Regions from separate parts of the Homo sapiens genome. Here region 1 is linked to region 2. Evidence: promoter capture Hi-C in human tissues and cell types (Jung and others, 2019). All regions are on one chromosome and are shown on one strand. The core of a region is centred on a gene start or on the middle of the fragment in contact, and the rest is flanking DNA. Distances in the headings are between cores, read along the strand shown. Region 1 holds the start of FUT6 (fucosyltransferase 6). Region 2 holds the start of ACSBG2 (acyl-CoA synthetase bubblegum family member 2).

The links. Contacts are between HindIII fragments. The study calls those that stand out against the background at their distance.
Region 1: the fragment with the promoter of FUT6 here is called in contact with the fragment with the promoter of ACSBG2 in region 2 in 1 of the 25 tissues and cell types used here (stomach).

What each region holds. Positions count from the first base shown.
Region 1 is chr19:5,838,294-5,841,077 of GRCh38, forward strand. It overlaps FUT6 (fucosyltransferase 6), which reads right to left and starts at 1,409. Exons shown (of 3, transcript NM_000150.4): 1 at 384-1,409. The HindIII fragment of the contact is 16,612 bases long and covers 1-2,784 here.
Region 2 is chr19:6,134,406-6,137,105 of GRCh38, forward strand. It overlaps ACSBG2 (acyl-CoA synthetase bubblegum family member 2), which reads left to right and starts at 1,262. Exons shown (of 15, transcript NM_030924.5): 1 at 1,262-1,504. All of the region lies in intron 3 of LOC105372255 (a long non-coding RNA gene), which reads right to left. RefSeq lists enhancers at 226-1,129, 1,130-2,032. The HindIII fragment of the contact is 13,898 bases long and covers 1-2,700 here.

The DNA of each region.
Region 1 (2,784 bases), core at 159-2,658, 300 kb before region 2:
GAGAAAATCCGGGGCCAGGAAGGATGAAGGGGTGTAGGCTGCTGATGGGGTCGGGGGGCACGGGATTCTACCGCAGAGCTCTGCAAGAGAGACAGACAGACACCCACTTCCTCCTGGTTTGGCAAATCAGCCAGACCTCCCATATCCTCAGCCCACCTCGGTGCATCCAGAAAGACCCCTGCCTGCGACTAGGGGCTGCTGGCCAAATGCCAGGCCACTGCACAGCCTGCAGACCCTCCCCCAGGGATCTTGTGCCAGCCCACCCGCACTCTGAATTACAGCAGACAGGACTGAGGCTGAGGGGAGGAGGCTCGGAGCCAGGAGGCCTTTCCCTGGACCCATGCGATCCGGGTTGGGGGTGAAAGTGGGACAAGAGGCCTTACCTGGGGGGGCCAGTGTGCAGAGGGCCCTAGAGCTGAGAGGCCGCGGACGGAGTAACAGCTGGATTCTGAGGACGTGGAAGAGGCCACACCACGCAGCAGAAGGAAGGAGGAAGTGTACCCGGAGCTGAAACCAGGCCCTTTCCAACCACCACACCTGTCATCAGGTGACCCAGGGCATCCTGTCCTGGAGCCCGGACATCCTTTGAAAACAAATCGTGGGGCTCCCCTAATCCCCGTTGCAGAACCAAACAGGGTGAAGGGATTTGGAGACTCAGGTCATGCATGACCTTGCCCCACCTGTGGCTTCAATGCGATGTGGCTTTGAGTACAAAGTGAAAAGGCTGACCTGAACCACCGGTTCCCAAAGCGGGTTCCACAGGGACACCAGGGGTTCCTTGGGAGGTGGGAATGAGGAAGTGAGCAGAATTTCTACCTTTCCGCTTTCCTTCCCACCAGATCCCACCTTCTCACTCAGTTGGCCCATCACCAAATATTTCCTGAGCACTAAGTGCCAGGCCAAGGGATCTTGCAGGAAACCGGTGGGCAAGTCAGGCAACTCATGAACCTTGGAAGGGAACTTTCTTCAATTAAAATTGCAGCCTTTTGAATAAAAAAGGGATGGAAGGGCATTCCAGTTACAAGGAACAACCTTCGCAAAGGCCCTGAGGCAGCAGAAATGCAGGCATGTTGAGGAACTGCAGGAGGAGTCTCAGCAGGCTGGGTCTTCACCACTGGAGAGGAGGCAGAGCTGTTGCAGAGGCTGGGCCACGGTCAGCCATAGGGTGTTCAGCACCAAGGCAATAGGGAGCCATGTGAGGCTTCAAGCAGAGGGGTTACCATGTCGATACATGTTTTCAGATGCTCTCTTCTGGTAGGCTGGGCACAGGTCCCATATTGGTGGCAGAAGCTTCCTCCGGTGGCCTCAACAAGCCCCTCTGTGTGCCTCAAAGCCACTTCCTTTCCCCACCCACTCCTGCAGGGCAGTGCAAAGCAGAAGTCCAGGGAGCTATGCAAACTTCCTGGAATGGAGAGAAATGATCTGGAATACTGGTTTTGAGGGAGGATGACCTTAAACTCTCTCACTCCCAAGCTGGGTGCAAAGGTGACCGAGCTCAAAGCCCAGCCTCCAAGTATCACGACTGCCCTGTTCTAGAAATCATTTCTGGGAGGCTGCATCATGCTGCCTGAGTTCTACTATCTCAGTGCCCAGCCACGCCCAGACCAGTGAGGTTCTGGGAGGTAGGGATGGGCCAGGGGGTTGGGGTCTCCCAGAGCTCCAGAAGTGGCAACCTAATTCCACTCATGTCTCATTCCTTGACTGGTGAGGTTGACTGTAACTTATTAAAAAAATGACTTCTGGGGGCCGGGCGTGGTGGCTCACGCCTGTAATCCCAACACTTTGGGAGGCCGAGGTGGGCAGATCACGAGATCAGAAGATCAAGACCATCCATCCTGACTAACATGGTGAAACCCTGTCTCTACTAAAAATACAAAAAAATTAGCCAGGCGTGGTAGTGGGTGCCTGTAGTCCCAGCTACTTGGGAGGCTGAGGCAGGAGAATGGTGTGAACCCGGGAGGCGGAGCTTGCAGTGAGCCTAGATTGAGCCACTGCACTCCAGCCTGGGCGACAGTGCAAGACTCTGTCTCAAAAAAAAAAAAAAAAAAAAAAAAGACTTCTGAGGCCATGCACAGTGACTCACACCTGTAATCCCAACAGTTTGGGAAGGAGAGGCAGGAAGATCGCTTGAGCCCAGGAGTCTGAGACCAGCCTAGGGAAAACAGAGATACCCCTATCTCTCTCTTTTTTTTGAGATGGAATCTTGCTCTGTCACTCGGGCTGGAGTGCAGTGGCACAGTCTCAGTTTACTGTAACCTATGCCTCCCGGGCTCAAGCGATTCTCATGCCCCAGCCTCCCGAGTAGCTGGGACTACAGGCGCGTGACACGGCACTGGGTAACTTTCGTATTTTTTTAATAGAGCTGGTTTTCGCCATGTTAGCCAGGCTGATCTTGACCTCCTGACTTCAGGTGATCTGTCTGCCTCAGCCTCCTAAAGTACTGGGATTAGAGGCCAGGCATGAGCCACTCCGCCCAGCTGGGTTTTTTTTCTTTTTTTTTTTTGAGACAGAGTCTCGCTCTGTGGCCCAGGCTGGAGTGCAGTGGCACGATCTCGGCTCATGGCAAGCTCTGCCTCCTGGGTTCACGCCATTCTCCTGCCCCAAGTAGCTGGGACTACAGGCGTCCGCCATCACGCCCAGCTAATTTTTTTTTTTTTTTTTGTATTTTTAGTAGAGACATGTTAGCCAGGATGGTCTCGATCTCCTGACCTTGTGATCCGCCCGCCTCGGCCTCCCAAAGTGCTGGGATTACAGGCGTGAGCCACCACGCCCCGCCCCCAGCTG
Region 2 (2,700 bases), core at 12-2,511:
CACACACACACAAAAGGCCCTGGAGACAAAGGAACACTCCTTGTCCTTTTCTCCTGGCACAGCACAAGATTCTGTTGCTACATCTTTATTTACTGAGCATCTAGTATGTGCTGCACCTGGCACTGTTTTGTCTTTTTTGTTTTGAGACAAGGTCTTGCTCTGTAGGCCTGGCTGGAGTGCCATGGTACCATCACAGCTCACTGCAGCCTGGAACTCCTGGGCTCAAACAATCCCCCCACCTCAGCCTCCCTACTAGCTGTGGTTACACTTGCGCACCACCACGCCCGGCTAATTTTTTAAATTTTTCTGTAGAGACGGGGTCTTACTACATTGCCCAGGCTGGTTTTGAACTCCTGGCCTCAAGTGATGCTACGGACTTGGCCTCCCAAAGTGCTGGGATTCCAGGCACAAGCCACTGTGCCTGGTAGTGGACATTGTTAGCAGTGACTAAAGCAGAGAACGAGAAGGGGGAGGCCGCTGTAAACACATGAAGACAGGCAGCGTAAGAGAAAGTCACGAGGGCAGGAATAACATCCAGGCATACTTCAGATCCCAGCTCAAGAAACCACTCCCAGGCCAGGCGCGGTGGCTCACGCCTGTCATCTCAGCACTTTGGGAGGCCAAGGCGGGCGGATCACAAGGTCAGGAGTTTGAGACCAGCCTGGCCAACATGGCGAAACCCCGTCTGTACTAAAAATACAAAAGATTAGCCGGGCGTGGTGGCGGGCGCCTGTAATCCCAGCTACTCGGGAGGCTGAGGCAGGAGAATCGCTTGAACCTGGGAGGCAGACGTTGCAGTGAACTGAGATCGCACCATTGCACTCCAGCCTGGGTGACAGAGCAAGACTCCCGTCTCAAAAAACGAAAGAAAAGAAAGAAACCACTCCCAGACTCCCTGCCTGGGCGGGATCCTTTGATCAAGCCCTCAACATGCCTTGGGGCTCTCTTCACAATGGTAAGTTTGCATTTGTTTGTGTGATTCTAGGCCTCCTCTTATTTTCTTGAACAGGCCTCATCTGGCTTTGTTCATCTTTATGTCTCCAGCATCCAGCACAATCCCTGCCATTAGGGTCATGGCTTCATAAAAACGTCACGAATGCAACGCAGAAGTGCATGCATGCATGAATAAATGAATGATGCATGAAAAGAGCAATCTCCCTGTCCTGGAAGCAGCTTCCCCTAGGGGTGGGGGTGGGGTGCGGAGGCAGGGGCAGCCAGTGATGTCACAAGAGGTGGCTGGGATGGAACGTTCTGGAAGGTTGAATGGGGTAGAAGGCCTGTTGTGGAGGGAAACCACCCATCCTCCTGCCTCCCACCACCACCATCATCCTGGCTGGACGGAGAGGGTGACGGGGGCTGGGAAGGGGCAGCTCATGTTCAGGTTTCCAGGAGGGGCTACCTGTTGACTGTCTTTGCAGGAAGAAGAAAACACCTGAGTGACCAGATGTCCCAGCTCCAGGTGCCTTGCCAGATGGCCAGAACCACACCTCTTGAAGAGTGACAGGTGCCAGTGGTATGGGAGAAGGGCATGCGTTTTCTTTTCTTTTTTTTTTGAGACAGGGTCTCACTCTTTTGCCCAGGCTATAGTGCAGTGGCACGATCTCAGCTCACTGCAACCTCTGCCTCCCAGGCTCAAGTGATACTCCCACCTCAACCTCCCAAGTAGCTGAGATTACAGGCGCCTGCCACCATGTCCAGCTAATTTTTTTTTTTTTTTTGAGACAGAGTCTTGCTCTGTTGCCCAGGCGCAATCTCGGCTCACTGCAAGCTTCGCCTCCCAGGTTCACACCATTCTCCTGCCTCAGCCTCCTGAGTAGCTGGGACTACAGGTGCCTGCCACCATGCCCGGCTAATTTTTTGTATTTTTTAGTAGAGATGGGGTTTCACCACATTAGCCAGGATAGTCTCAATCTCCTGACCTCGTGATCCACCCGCCTTGGCCTCCCAAAGTGCTGGGATTACAGGCGTGAGCCGCCATACTCGGCCTAATTTTTATATTTTTAGTAGAGATGGGGTTTCGCCATACCAGCCAGGCTGGTCTTGAACTTCTGACCTCAGGTGATCCACCCGCCTCGACCTCTCAAAGTGCTGGGATTATAGGCACGCGCCACCATGCCCAGCTAATTTTTGTATTTTTAGTAGAGATGGGGTTTCACCATGCCAGCCAGGCTGGTCTCGAACTCCTGGCCTCAAGCGATCCACCCGACTCAGCCTCCCAAAGTGCTGGGATTACAGGTGTGAGTCACCACATCTGAACCCTACATGGCCTTTTAAAATTGTGAAACATATAATGCATATAAAATAACACAAAGCATATCTGTACGATTTAATGAATAACGATAAATATCTGTGTGCCCTTTTCACTTCGTGAAATCGAATATTACTAGTAACTTACAAGTCCTCTGTAGAGAACTCCTGAGCTCAAGTGATCCACCTGCCACGGCCTCCCAAAGTGCTGGGATCACAGGTGTGAGCCTCCGCACCCGGCCGATCGTGTGATTTTTAACGTGCAGTTCCCTGATGACCAAAGCTACTGAGCATCTTGTCCAGGATTTGTAGCCCTTTCCAGGCTCCTTTTTTGTGAACTGCCTGTTTACATTTTTCATCATAAAACACTGGGTTGTTTACATTTGTCTTTTAAATCCAGAGTTCTTTTCATACTCCGGATACTAATTTTATTTGCCCATTTTGCATTGCCAT